Linked DNA regions of Homo sapiens: all the other regions are linked to region 4. Evidence: promoter capture Hi-C in 16 types of primary human blood cells and fetal thymus (Javierre and others, 2016). All regions are on one chromosome and are shown on one strand. The core of a region is centred on a gene start or on the middle of the fragment in contact, and the rest is flanking DNA. Distances in the headings are between cores, read along the strand shown.

Evidence for each region. Contacts are between HindIII fragments. The CHiCAGO score rates a contact against its expected background, and 5 or more counts as called.
Region 1: a fragment that was not itself captured here is called in contact with the fragment with the promoter of CCAR2 in region 4 in 1 of 17 cell types (endothelial precursors); the score reaches 8.4 in endothelial precursors.
Region 2: a contact is called between the fragment with the promoter of PEBP4-AS1 here and the fragment with the promoter of CCAR2 in region 4, in 3 of 17 cell types (M2 macrophages, M0 macrophages and endothelial precursors). The highest score is 5.7, in M2 macrophages.
Region 3: a fragment that was not itself captured here is called in contact with the fragment with the promoter of CCAR2 in region 4 in 16 of 17 cell types (endothelial precursors, fetal thymus, naive CD4 T cells and 13 more); the score reaches 20.9 in endothelial precursors.
Region 5: a contact is called between a fragment that was not itself captured here and the fragment with the promoter of CCAR2 in region 4, in 6 of 17 cell types (M0 macrophages, endothelial precursors, M1 macrophages and 3 more). The highest score is 8.6, in M0 macrophages.

Annotation. Positions count from the first base shown.
Region 1 is chr8:22,933,372-22,936,071 of GRCh38, forward strand. It overlaps a transcript of PEBP4 not described here. Among named protein-coding and RNA genes, the nearest start is that of PEBP4, 6.8 kb to the left of the region's middle. The HindIII fragment of the contact is 2,306 bases long and covers 252-2,557 here.
Region 2 is chr8:22,876,591-22,879,290 of GRCh38, forward strand. It overlaps PEBP4-AS1 (PEBP4 antisense RNA 1), which reads left to right and starts at 1,382. Exons shown (of 4, transcript NR_125433.1): 1 at 1,382-1,561. All of the region lies in intron 3 of PEBP4 (phosphatidylethanolamine binding protein 4), which reads right to left. RefSeq lists a silencer at 965-1,034. The HindIII fragment of the contact is 10,906 bases long and covers 1-2,700 here.
Region 3 is chr8:22,916,904-22,919,603 of GRCh38, forward strand. The region is part of intron 3 of PEBP4 (phosphatidylethanolamine binding protein 4); the gene reads right to left. Among named protein-coding and RNA genes, the nearest start is that of PEBP4, 9.7 kb to the right of the region's middle. RefSeq lists an enhancer at 2,643-2,700. The HindIII fragment of the contact is 1,575 bases long and covers 545-2,119 here.
Region 4 is chr8:22,603,427-22,606,126 of GRCh38, forward strand. CCAR2 (cell cycle and apoptosis regulator 2) reads left to right here and starts at 1,331. Exons shown (of 21, transcript NM_001393997.1): 1 at 1,331-1,416; 2 at 2,310-2,405; 3 at 2,659-2,700. The coding sequence starts at 2,348. C8orf58 (chromosome 8 open reading frame 58) reads left to right here. Exons shown (of 7, transcript NM_001013842.3): 7 at 1-716. It overlaps LOC107986876 (a long non-coding RNA gene), which reads right to left and starts at 1,574. Exons shown (of 1, transcript NR_160769.1): 1 at 1-1,574. RefSeq lists enhancers at 1,049-1,158, 1,165-1,665 and silencers at 1,329-1,628, 1,689-1,748. The HindIII fragment of the contact is 4,257 bases long and covers 1-2,700 here.
Region 5 is chr8:22,893,667-22,896,366 of GRCh38, forward strand. The region is part of intron 3 of PEBP4 (phosphatidylethanolamine binding protein 4); the gene reads right to left. It overlaps LOC124901907 (a long non-coding RNA gene), which reads right to left. Exons shown (of 2, transcript XR_007060854.1): 2 at 1,385-2,700. Among named protein-coding and RNA genes, the nearest start is that of PEBP4-AS1, 17 kb to the left of the region's middle. The HindIII fragment of the contact is 1,551 bases long and covers 600-2,150 here.

The sequences.
Region 1 (2,700 bases), core at 155-2,654, 330 kb after region 4:
GAATCAAACTGTTGGAAGCCAAAGACAAAGAGAGAATTTTGAAAGCAATAAGAGAGAAGACTCATCATGTATAGGGATCCTCAATAAAATTATCAGCCAATTTATCAGCAGAAACTTTGAAGCCCAGGGGGCATTGGGATGATATAAAGTACTGAAAGAAGAAAAGTTGTCAATTAAGAATTCTATGTCCAGCAAAAGTATCTTCCAAAATATTAGTAAGAGAGAAATTAAGAAAGTCCCAGATAAACAAAAGCTTAGGGAGTTGATTACCACCAGCACTGCCCTGCAAGAAATGCTGAAAGTAGATCTTCAGGTTGAAATGAAAAGATGACAGTAAGCTGAAACTAGGTGAAGAAATATATCAAGATCTTTGTTTGAGGTAAACACACAGCAAATTAAAAAGCCAGTATTGTTGGAATTTTGGTTTGTAATTCCACTTTTAAATACAGGATGTCTTAGTCCATTTAGTGCTGTTATAAATGAATACCTGAGGCTGGATAATTGATAAAGAGGTTTATTTGGCTCACAATTCTGCTGGCCGGAAGACTGGGCATCTGGTAAAAGCCTCAGCCTTTTCCCACTCATTTTAGAAGGGAAAGGGAAGCTGGAGTGTGCAGAAATCACACAGTGAAATAGAAAGCAGGAATGAGAAATGGGAGGTGCCAGGCTCTTTTTAACAACCAGTTCTCATGGAACTAATAAAGTGAGAATGCACTCCCCTGGAACTGCATTCTATTCATGAAAGGTCTGCCCCCAAGATGCAAACACCACCCATTGGGCCCCACCTCCAATATTGGGGATCAAATTTCAACATGAGTTTTGCGGGGCACAAATATCTAAATTATAGCACAGGATTTAAAGACAATGAATAAAATAATTATAAATCTTTGTTAGTGGGTATATAATAATGTAAACTCTAACATCGGTAACACAAAATGGGGGGCACGGAGCTGTATAAGTAAAATGTTTGTATGCAATTGAAGTTAAGTTAGTATCAATTCAAATTAGATCATTATAACTTTAGGATGTTATATGTAATTCCCATGGTAACCACAAAATGTATTTATAGAATATACACAAAAGGAAATGAGAAGTGAATAAAACATGTCACTACAAAAAAAATCAACTAAATGTAAAGAAAGGTAGAAATGGAGGAAATGAGGAACACAAAAAGCTGAAAAGCAGCCAGATGCAGTGGCACATGCCTGTAGTTCCAGCTGCTTGGGAGGCTGAGGTGAGAGGATCACTTGAGCCTAGGAGTTTGAGGCCAGCCTGGGCCACATAGTGAGACCCCATCTCTTAAGAATGCAAGCAAGCAAGCAAGCAAGAAGAGCTAAAACATACAGAAAACAAATAACAAAATGGCAAAATAAGTCATTGAGTCATTGTCTATCAGTAAATGGATTTAAATTTAAATTTAATTGGGTTCAATGCCTCAGTCAAAAGTTATAAACTGGCAGATTAGATTTTTTAAAAATGATTCAATTATATACTGTCCACAATAGACTTGCTTTAGCTCTAAGGACACAAATAGATTGAAAGAGAAAGGATTTAAAAAGATGTACACAGTAACGAAAAGAGAACAGGGATGGCTATATTAATATCAGACAAAACAGATTTTAAAGTCTAGTTCTACAAGAGAAAAAGAAGGGCATTGTATATTGATAAGAATCAATTCATCAAGAAGATATAACAGTTATAAACCTATATGCACCAAACATCAGGGATCCAAAATATATAAGCATACAAGGATAGAATTGAAGGGAAAAATAGGTAGCTTAACAACAGTAATTGGAAATTTCAGTACTCCACTTTTAATAGTGAATAGAACAACTAGGCAGAAGACCAATTAAAGAAATGGGAGACTGGCTGGGCATGGTGGCTCACACCTGTCATCCCAGCACTTTGGGAAGCCGAGGTGGGTGGATCACTTGAGGTCAGGAGTTCAAGACCAGCCTGGCCAACATGGAGAAACCATGTCTCTACTAAAAATACAAAAATTAGCTGGGCATGGTGGCAGGCACCTGTAGTCCCATCCCAGCTACTTGGGAGGCTGAGGCAGGAGAATTGCTTGAACCCAGGAGGCAGAGGTTGCAGTGAGCTGAGATCGCTCCACTGCAGTCCAGCCTGGGCAGCAGAGTGAGACTGTCTCAAAAACAAAAAACACAATACATCCCTAAGCCAAAAATTGGAATTCTGAAATGCTTCAAGATTTAAAACTTTGAAGGCCTATGGAATACTACAAGTGAAAAAATCCTACACCTGACCTCATGTGATGGGTCACAGTCAAAACTTTGTTTTATGCACAACATTATTAATAATATTGTATAAAACTATCTTTAGGCTGTGTATAAGGTATATATAAACATAAATAAATTTCATGTTTAGACTTAGGTCCCATCTCCAAAATATCTCATATATGCAAATATTCTAAAATCTGAAAAATTTGAAATTTGAAATACTTCTTGTCCCAAGTGTTTTCGATAAGGGAAACAACTGGTATACCAAGATGTATGGGATGCAGTGAAAGCTGTACATGCTGTAAAATAGCTATAAAAGCTTACATTGAGAAGTTGTAAATGCTTATATTAAAAAAGAAGGAGGATCTCAAATCAACAACCTAAATTTACACCTTAAGGAGCTAGGGAAAAAAAAAAAAAAGAACAAGATAACCCAAAGCTAGCAGAAAGAAAGAAATAC
Region 2 (2,700 bases), core at 132-2,631, 270 kb after region 4:
GTCTCTACCTCAACTTGCAGCCCAGGGGCACCTCACAAACGTGCTTCATCGATGACAGTGTATGTTTATAGCGCTTGTGTTGTTGTGAAAATAAACAGCACTTGAAGTGTAAAATTAGAAGTAAATAAATGAGTTAGGAATTATTTTCTCCACTGTTTAAACAAAGCTACTTCTCAGGTGGGACATTAGCTTCCTTGGAGCAAAGCCAAAATCTGGCTTGGTTAGCCAGAAAATGTAAACACATTTCTGTTAATGTTCAGGGTAGAAAGGAGAACCTCTCCCTTAACTGCTGTGTGAGGCTGGACTAGTTATTCAACCTCTCTGGGCCTTGGACCCTTATCTTTAAAATGAGGCTAATAGTGCCTCCTTCATTAAGTCTTTGCCAGGACTGAAATGTACATTTCATAGCATGATGCTTGGATCAGAAAAGCACTCCATATATATTAGCTATTTGAATTATGATTTGGGTTTCAGGGAGTTTATTCCACCCTTATAAACATATCAAGTGGACACCATGTTTTGGTCTTTTCTTTCCTCCTCAAACCAGGCTGTGCTGAATGGGAATCCTCAAACAGCCCTCAGCCTCAGGGATAAGGTGTCCCAGCCATTTCTACTGTAATGGCTAAGAGCCCTTTTTGTCCAGTCTCTCCCTGTCCTCAGTTGTCCAGGTGAGGACAGCTGACTTTGGAATAGAAAGATGATGGGGCTACGTGTCCTTATTGTGAATCAAAACGTCAGGTCCATGTTTTGATTCTGAGGTCAGAATCAAACCAACCTCCTGGTTGGTTGGCAGGTCCTTGGGACTTTTGTGCCTTCAAAATGTCAGGTTATTTGCCCTGACTCCAGTAGCCCAGCACGACCCAAGTACTACATTCTTGGGCAGAGCCAGCCAGAGCCAGGAGGCACTGACTTTGTCTCTCCGTAGCCAAATGGCTGGGAAACTAGCTGGGAGGAGAGGAGGTGAGGCCAGCAGCTTGTGAACACACGGGCGGGCTCACTGTTGGCAGCGGGGAGGAGGCTCCTGGGCTGGGCTGAGCCCAGCCACCCTCACCCCAGGGGCCCACCACCCCACCTCCCCACCTCCCCCTCCTGTTATGAAACCCACGGGGACAACCACACATGTGGGCAGCCGGGGGCTTTCCTCGAATTGACAACAGCTTCTCGCTGTCGCTCGGCAGAACATGAGCTGCTTACATAAACACTGCCTCAGAGACACCTGCAGTGTGGGACGCAGGGAGTCGGAGGAGGGTGGAGGGAGAGGCAGAAAGCTGCAGGGTGAGAGAACGGCTCCCCACCCCACCATGGAGGGGCCGTCTGTGCATCCATACACTGCACACGCGTGCGCAGACACACACACACACACACAGACACACACGAAGTTGGTTACTTTCTCAGCTGTAACCAGGAGGCAGGGAAGAAGGCAATGCAGTCCTCATTCTTTAGAGACTCAACCTGTGTCCCCAGCCCTCCCCACCTCCTCCCACACCCCCCTCCAAACTCAGCTTGGCTGGGAAAGGAAACTCCCCAGTCTGCTGTGCTCCTGCAAGCTGAGTGTTTGCAGGTGAATCTACTCCAGGTACAGGAGCAGCTCCTGAGGGAAAGGGGGTGGAGGGTGAGCATGGAGAGGGAGGGGGAGAGGGAGGGAGGGAGGGAGGGAGGGGCGGAATCCCTGGAATTTAAGGTTAGAGAATATAGTAGGGGACTGGCCTGGTAAGATGGTATTTGGGGGCCTCTACGGAAAACACATCCTGCAGGTCAGACCAGCATGGGCTCTGCGGGAGAGGGTGGAGGGTCAGTGCATGCTCAGTGGGAGGGCTCTGAGAGGTGGCAGGACCCGGCCGTGTGGCAGTGGCCTTGGGTTTCCAAGTGGTGCTTTCTCACTTTTCTGCCCGTCAGTTTACCTGACACACCAAGTGACTGAGATTGCTGCCTGTGAGTTACCCTATTGCTCATATCTAATCACAAAGCGCAGACAGGTGGGGAGGGCTTCCCTCTCCGGGCCTGGCACCTCTGGGTTTGGGTACTCTGGCCTCCTTCCTCTGGGATGCTCACTCGGACTCTGCTACTGGCCAGCCTGAGCAAGTCGGCAGAGCACAGGATCTCCAAACAGGGGTGCATTCCCTGGCTTCATCAGAGAGGAGGCTTGGAGCTCAGGGAACAGAGAGCAAACTGGATGTCTAGGCCAAGCTGGATGCCAAGGGGAAAATAGCCCTCCTTTTGAAAGTATTCTTGCATTTTAACTGTCATCACAGTTAAGCCACCACGGGCAGACCCTGGAGGCTGGAAGAGGGCATCCAGAATGATGTTGGGCTGGTTTCTTATCACAGAGCACCGGGTAGGGGGATGAGCTAAAAATTATAGTTCTTGTTCCCAGCTTAGCGTGGCTATGGGGCGGGTGGTATCTCCTCTGTGTTCCTTCATCTCTTTAGAGACTGAAAGAGAGGACAAGCCCTTCCCCATGGGAAACATTTTACTATGCTCTATCCTAATCTCATCTCAGAGCCCACTCACAGTGAATAGATCTCAGCTAGGAAGGGAAGCAAATATCCCCAGTGACGATGAAGACCAGACATGGAGGTTTAACTGATCTGTGTGAGGCCACAGAACGAGAGTGTGGCCTCAACGCTCTCAATGTTGACAGAACAGCACTCAACATATTGCATTGCGACATGTCTGCTTCTGGACTGCCTATCCCACCAG
Region 3 (2,700 bases), core at 82-2,581, 310 kb after region 4:
ACAGAGAAAGAAAAGATCAGCCAGGGATGTAGGTGGAGCCCAGAGGGAGGCAGTCAGGGAAGGCTTCCTAGAGGAGGAAGCATTGTGACGGGAGCAGGGTCCAAAGACGCCAAGGATGGGGAAGTGGCCAATGCCAGAATATGGAGGTGGGAAGCTCTATGGTGGGCACAGAGGCACTGCTGCACCCCTCTTTCCAGGGCTTTGGAGTTTGCTGGGGGCGGGGGAGGGGGGGGTGTTCCCAGGCATGTCCAATGGCAGTCACTGCTTTGGTGGCATTGCTTCAGTCACCTTGGAAGCAATGCACCATCCCCACATAGCAGTCACCAACTCGTGCCCTTCTCCATCAGGCCCAGAAGAAATACCTTCATGCTCTTCTCTGTCCTAAACACTCAGGCTCCCCGCACCCTTTTCTTGAGGGACCCAGGTAGCACTTGCTCCTCCAGCCTCACCAGTCATGCCCTCTCCCTTAAGGGAAGCTCCAACTACCACCTTCCCTAGGAAGAACTATCCTTCCTGCCCACCCCCTTCCATTCTAACCAGGGAAAGCTTCCCTTCGGCCAGCCCACCCCTGCCTGTGCCAGCGCCCCCTGGTGTCTCCCTTAGAGCCCTTGCCAGTGGCCCACTGGCCAGGCCCATGGGCTCTGGAGTTGGGCAGACCTGGCTTTGACTCTGGCTCTGGCACCTTTCAGCTCTGTACTTGGCCAGATTACTCACTTCCATAGGACCTGCCTTGCATTTCCTACCTAACATCCTTTCACCCTTATCTGATCAATCACACCTTGACTTGCATTCAGGGCAACCATCCTCCTCTACTCTCAGTCCTTGTAGATTAAGGGGAGCTGTAGAGGGTCACTGCTAGGTTCAGGGATAGGCACAAGACCAAAGCGAGACCAATCCTGTGACTTTTAATGGATGGAAAACCCTATTTCCACTGGGGTTGACAAATTGGTCAAACACAAACCTAAGGCTGTTGGGGCCATCTTTGTCACAAGGGAAGACTCTATTTACAAATGAAAACAGCACAGAAAAAAACAATCAAGAGACAGATTCCTGGTGACACTGAGCACCTGGATCCAGCCTCGCCTGAAGTTATCCCTGGAGTTTTCAGTTTTGTGAACCAATGTTTCCCCCTCTTTTCTGGCTTAAGCCGATTTGAGTTGACTTTTTGTCACATGCCATTAATAGTCTTGATGAAAGAAATACTTAACTTGGAGACTTAAATGAAAGGTCCGAGTAGTGCCCAGGAATGGAATAAGGTGGCACTCACTGACCACTTTGGCAAATCTCTCTGAATCTGCCTTCTCATAGGTCTGTTACATTTCCATAAACTATAGTTCCATAGTAGTAGAATACTATGTTTTTCTTCTTCCCACAGCTTCGATCAAATCTTCCTTTGTAAAATCTTCACTCTCCCAGGCTTTCTTGACCACAGCTCTGTGTTCCTCATAAATCTCTATGTTCCACATCCGTTTTCTCCCCACCCCACCCCCGGGCTGAGGCAGGATGGGTTTAACAGTACAAGACTTCAGGATGTGGCGTGGGTGATGTCGTCTTTGTGTAATGTGCTGATAAGCCAGGGCAACGAAACCAAATCAAACCAAAGACTTTCCCAACAGGCTTCAAATCCCTGCTCTGGAGGACACCAGGTGCTCAGAAAAGTCTACACTGCCATCTAGTGGATGTCTGCAGCATCATCAGCACGCGGAAGGGAGCCCTTTGGGGAGAATTCCCTTGGGACTGTCCCTGGCCTGTGAAAGCATCCGACTGACCCTCACTACATAAGGGACAAACCCCAAGACAAGTGAATGGATGGTGAAGCCGAGAGTCCTGTCCCGCAGAGTAGCATATACTCCTCTAAAAGATTGGGTTCCTGCCCGGCCTCTGCACCTCCCATCCCAGGAGTTAGAATCAGCAGGCTTCCTTTCTCTGCTCCTCTTGGCTGTCCACAGGTGTGCCCAGTCCAAGGGTTTCCAGGGAAGAGGGCTGACGCTGTGTGCACATGGGTGTGCATGCAAGTGTGTGTGTGCACATGTGCACACATGTGCACGTGTGCACTTTATTGCTCGTCTTCCCAAAGGAAAGGGTGTTTGTCGTGTTTGCAAACAAGACAACCTAGCAAAGCTTCATGACAACAGCCTCATAACTTGCGAGCCATATCACAATCTATTTGCTCTCTGATAGTGAAAAACACTTCAAAGAGAAGAGTCTATTCCCCGCATTGGAGTAACTTGTGTGCTGCCGCCCTCTGGAGCTTGTTGTCCTACTGGGCTTAGCTGACTGCATGAGGCCTAACCAAGGCAGCACTGAGGGGAAGGAAGAACCCCTTGTGGCCCTTCCCTGCCACCCTGCACAGAAAGGACCAGAAGGTCAGCCTTGGTGTGTGTGCTTGGTCACATCCCGGCCACGACCCTTCCATCTCCAGGCATTTGTGACCCAAGTCCTGCCTAGATTGACAGCAGCACCTCCTTCTAAAACACAGCAGAAAAGAGGCCAGTCTCCACCATTGACACTCTGCGGGCTCAGTCTGGCCCAGGAGTCAAGAAATAAAGAAGCGGAGACCAGAAGGCCAGATCAGCTTCCCCAAAACACACTCTGGCTGCTTAGGGCAGCAGCAGACCCATTTCCCACTTCTATGACTCTTCCCCAGGCTTTCCAGACCCCTAAATGTAATAGCACTAATCACTGCCCAGTAAAATAGTT
Region 4 (2,700 bases), core at 81-2,580:
CTCTTGAGTCGAGGGCTGAATCTTTCTCCTCTAAGCAGTCTGGTCAGGAACCTTGGTTTCTTGAGAGGCCCCCAAGATGCCGCAGCTCCAGGGCTCTTCCTCCTCACCAGAAATCCCTGGGCTTCCACAATGTGAACTCACTCATTGTCAGGTGTCCGTGGAGTGTTTTTGGCATGGTGACCTGTCTGGGCCCAGCATGTTGCAGATGTGTATTTATGCGCAATGGTATGCATATCTCTGTGTGACTGTCAGTGTTGCAAGCTGGCTGGATCCAACCATCTCTTCTGAAATAATGCATCCAAAGGGTTGATATTCTGGGGGAGGTCACTGCAGAAGGATGGAACTGACCTTTATTCCCCAGTGGGCAGTTACTGAGCTTTCCTCCTCAGAGCCATGCTGGCAGCCCTGGGACAGAGAACGGTGTGGCTTTGGCTGCCTCTGCATGGAATCTTGCCCCGGACTCCTGAAGACTGCACAAGGAATGAGGAAGATCAGGGACAACCTGGGAACTGAATAACTTTCAAAGCCAGTGCTCAGCTTCTCTGCTCCGTACTAGCGTTTACAGGTCTTAATTCAAACCAGATGCCTGTACTAGTTTTTAGACCCCAAGTCAACCTTTCTGAGCCACAGCTTCCCGCTGGGAATAATGATGCCTGCCCTATCTACCTCACAGACTTGTTATGAGGATAAAGTGAGATTAAACTGCCTCAAAGTGCTTTGTAAACCTCAGGTGAATAGGAAAGGGGAAAGTAAGGCTGGAGTGATGATGGGGAGGTCGGAGGATAAGGGGGGGCTGGGATTGCTAATGGGGACTAAAATGGCCAGTCTCCTGGCAAGATTTTGAGCAGGTCATTTCATTGAGGCCTCTTAGATTTCATATTTGAGAATTAGGGCACTGATTCCTGACTGGCTAGGCATGGTGGTCACTGGCTTGAGTCAGACCAGGAATGTCTCTTAGAAATGGTCACTGATAGGCATCCTTCTCCTCCAGTCAGGAGGGGCTGGTTTCCTTATCTGTTGCAGTCTCGACTGCCAGAGGGAGGCGAGCGTGGTAGGCAGTCGGGGGTCCCTTGTGTTTGGGGGGCCCAGCTCCCGCTTCCTTTGAGCCCGGAACCAATGATCCGAAGCCTTCTTTCCTGATGGGATTCTTTAGCGAGGACACTACCGAGGCGCGACTTCCTGACGCGCATCCGATCCGGGAAGGCGCACTTCCGCTCCCCAGTTGCCGCGGGATGGCAAGCCGGCGTGGGGGAAGGGAGAGGTCGGCGGAGACGAGGGAGGGACCATATCCGGGAGAGCGGCAGCTTCCGACCAGTGGTCGCGCTTCCGGAGAGGCGCTTCCGGTGGCGGCGGCAGCAGCGGCTGTGGTGGTTCCGGGTGTCTTTGTCCCCCCGGTGTCGCTGCCCTGGCCCGCAGGTGGGTTGGGGGGCCCCCTGCCGCCCCTCTGCCCCTTCGCCCCTCCGCCCCTCCGCTGGCCGAGGGGCTGCGAGGGCCGGGCGGCGAAGATGCGTGGGGCGCGGAAGGGGCCGAGCCCCTCTTTGGACTGCAAGTCCCGTCTCCCTGGCAACGGCCTCGGCCTTGGGGGCGGGCGGGAGGAGGAGAAACCGCGCGCCTCAGTCCTCCCTTGGTGGCCTCGCCGCGGCTCTGCTGGGAGACCCGGCGCTGGCGGCTGCTGAGGCCGGAGCGGAGGGCCCGGGAGCGTGGGAGCAGGAGGGTGGCGCGCAGCCGGTTTCGCGTTTGGTCGGCCAGGGAGCTGCCTTCCCACCAGCCGGTCGAGGAAACAACGGGTCGGGCTTCCGGGGAGAGGGCCCACACAGTCTCCTCGCCGGCACCGGCCTCCTCCATTTTTCCGGGCCTTGCGTGGAGGGTTTTGGCGGATGTTTTTGAACGAAGGAATGTCATCGGGGCTCTCTCGAGCCCCTCACCCCGCCAGCTACTCTGGGGGTGGCGTGGCATAGTGAGAGGAGCGCTAAGTTGTTGGGAGGCCTGGGTGTGAGTAGCAGTTTTGTCACTACCTGGTTATGTGGCCCCGGGCAAGTCTCTTGATCTCTCTGAGCATCAGTTTCCTTGTCTGTAAAACAGCATGACAGTATCATGCACCACTAGGTTATTGTCAGGGCAAACTGGAACAATGTAATTTCTTGTTTCATTTCTTTCTTCTCTATATTCTCTCCATCCATTGCTTTCATTCATTCTTATTACCCACCTCCCTGTTTTCCGAAATATCCTTACTTAAGATTCTCCACTTTTCCGGGTATAGATGGAAATTTCCCTTATAAGCTGTTAATTTCTTTCTTTTTGGATTGAAGCCTTTTCCCCACGACTCTGAAAGAGGACAGCGTTCCCAATGTCCCAGTTTAAGCGCCAGCGGATCAACCCGCTTCCAGGGGGACGCAACTTCTCAGGTGATCACTGTTCTCCCTACCTGGCCTCATCCTGGGAAGTATGTGCTCTGGAGTTAGTTTGGGGTTTCCCTGGTGGAGAGCAATTTGCTGCTGATGTTCCTCTGGAAAGCAGGAGATGCCCACAGTGATTGCCAGTGAAGCTCTGTGGAGGAGCTGGCTGGAGCTGTAGCCTTTGGATTTACCACATCCTTTGGTTGACTCGTGCTTAAGGTGGTAGGGGCGGTTCCTGGAGATTGCTTCTCTTTCCCCATAGGCACAGCTTCAACATCTCTTCTGGGCCCTCCTCCTGGTTTGC
Region 5 (2,700 bases), core at 125-2,624, 290 kb after region 4:
GGATGAGATTTAACAGAAGGTTAACTATACAGAATAAGATATTAGTGAACTTGAAGACACAGCAATAGAAACTATTCAAAATAAAACACAGAGAGAAAAAAGACTGAAAAAAACCCACCAGAATAGCATATCAGTGAGCTGTGGGACATCTTCAAGTAGCCAAATATACATGCAATAGGAGTCCCTAAAATTCCCTTTTAGGGAATATTAGAAAAAATATTAGAAGACATAATGGCTGAAAAATGTCTTAATTTGATGAAAACTGTAAACCCACAGATCCCAGAAGCCCAACCAAAGAAATGCCAAGCACAAGACACATGAGAAAACTACACCAAACACATCACAATCAAATTGCTTAAAACCAGTGAAGATGAGAGCACAGGTTACCATTAGCAAATGTGTCACTGGCAGCCCGCGGCATATAGTAGCAAAATAATCTTGATTATCAAGTGTGATTACCTAGAACAAAGTACCCATTGAAGATAAGAGTTTGGCGGAATTGCACGATAGATTATTATGTCAGAATGATGAATATAAAGATGTTGGAATAAGATGACTTCTTCTGCCAGAAGTGGGAAAAGTAAAGAAAAATGGTTAGAAGCTTGAGGTTTAAATTCTTGGCACAGCCATGCATAGTGGCTCACTCTATAATCCCAGCACTTTGGGAAGCCAAGGCAGATGGATGGCTTCAGCCCAGGAGTTCGAGACCAGCCCAGGCAACATGGTAAGACCCTGTCTCTACAAAAAATAAAAAATAAATAAAAAAAATTCCAAGCATAGTGGCATGTGCCTGTAGTCCCAGCTACTCAGGAGGCTGAGGTGGGAAGATTGCTTGATTCCAGGAGGTCAAGGCTGCAGTGAACCGTAATCATGCCACTGCACTCCAGCTTGGGCAACAGAGTGAGACCCTGTCTCTAAAAATAAAATAAAATAGTAATAAATTCTTGGCTCAAGGCTCAATCAGAAGAGCAAGGAACAGTTAAGACTATCCTGAAAGAATCTCCCACGGTTTGTAGTTTCAGGGCCAACAAAACTGAAATCAGAAGTGAAGTCTGACCCAGCAGGTTGTAGAATTACAACCTAAGTTAAGTTCACAGCCTCATCAGGTCTCTTATGGGAGATGGTGTTGACTGGGAAAGATGGAACCCTGTGAATGGGGATGCTGAATTCATATAACTGAGTCTTAGACCCTGCTGAGCCTCCCTTTCCAGCAGAAGCTGCCCCTTTTCCCCAGGTCCTGTCTTGCAAGAGAATCCTGATTCTCCCTGAGGTCGACACTTACCACCCCTGGCTGCTCCTGACCTATTCTAGAATCAGATTTCAGCATGGCCAAGGGAGACAAGCACAAAGTCTGATTCTGAAACAGTAGACTTTCACACCAAAGTAGGTGCCATTTGTTTTTTAATATTTATTGGCAGAAATCTGAGAAATGTATAGTAAGGTGCTGATCACGGAGGAAAGAAGATCATTTTCAATTGGGCCATATTGATCAATATGGATTCTGGATCCAAAGTACTGGCTGGATCATCTGGGTATGGTTCTGTTCACTCAGTGGGTTATCTGAAATGAAACCTGAACTGAATGGCATCCTATACTAAATAAAGCTAAGGTGACAGAAGTTCCTTGATATAAAGCAAGGAATCTTAATACCTGGAGAGGCATAATAATGTTGGGGTGGGCTTACACATGTGTTCCCCACATACCCTCCTTCACTCTGTCCCAGGAGAACATACTTTCTTCACAAGCATTTAGACATGCTTTGGTGAGGGGGACACCGGCATTCTGTTTTCCTTGGTTGTCTTCAGAATTTATCTTTGGTTTTTAGCAGTTTGATCATGACACATCTAGGTGGATTTTTTTAAAAATTCTGATTAAGGTTCTCTGAGTATCTTGGACTTGTGGTATGTTGCCTTTCTTTAACAAGTTCTTGGTCATTATCTCTTCAAATAGTTCTACTCTGCTCTCTTTTCTTAATGAGATCCCAACTATACATATGTTAGACCATTTTATGTTGTCTCACAATGCTTGGGTGCTCTGTTCTGTCCCCCAGCCTTCTTTTCTCTCTTTATATTTCTTTAGATCATTTCTGTTGCTCTATCTTCAAGTTCACTGATTTTTCCAGTTTATATGTTACGTCTAATTTGCTGAGAAGCTTAAGTTCCTGTTTCAGTAACCTGACTAGTTTTCCAAGTTTGTCGGAAGTTCTGCTTTTTTGGCCACATCCTTGAACCCAGCCTAGGTGGCATTGGCCCTGCTTCCCATGGGCAGGTTTCTTCATGCCAGCCTCTCTGCCTGTGCTCCCAGTTACTGCCTACCTACTGCCCCCTCTGCCCTGGGGCAGATTTGCTGTGTGGCATCAGACAGTTGCCTGAAAGTTGCTGGTATTGTGGTTGGAGAGATGAAACCATGTTCCCAAATCCCACATCCTTGCATCAAGTAAGAAAAGTGCCACTGGAACCTAGAATGATGTGGGAACCCAGAAGAAGAAGATGTCCTAGTCTGGGAGGAGAGACAGGGAATGGAGCTTGGACAATCACTGTCATAGCTGGAGTGTGATCTGATGAAGATCTGAACTAGAGAAATACATAGGCCACGGTAATACTAATTAATCAGGAATGGTTGAGTTTTGCTCCCGCTGACCTATCAATTCTTACTCCAATGGCTCCTTTAACCGATAGTTGCAGTGTTCAGTGGGGTATT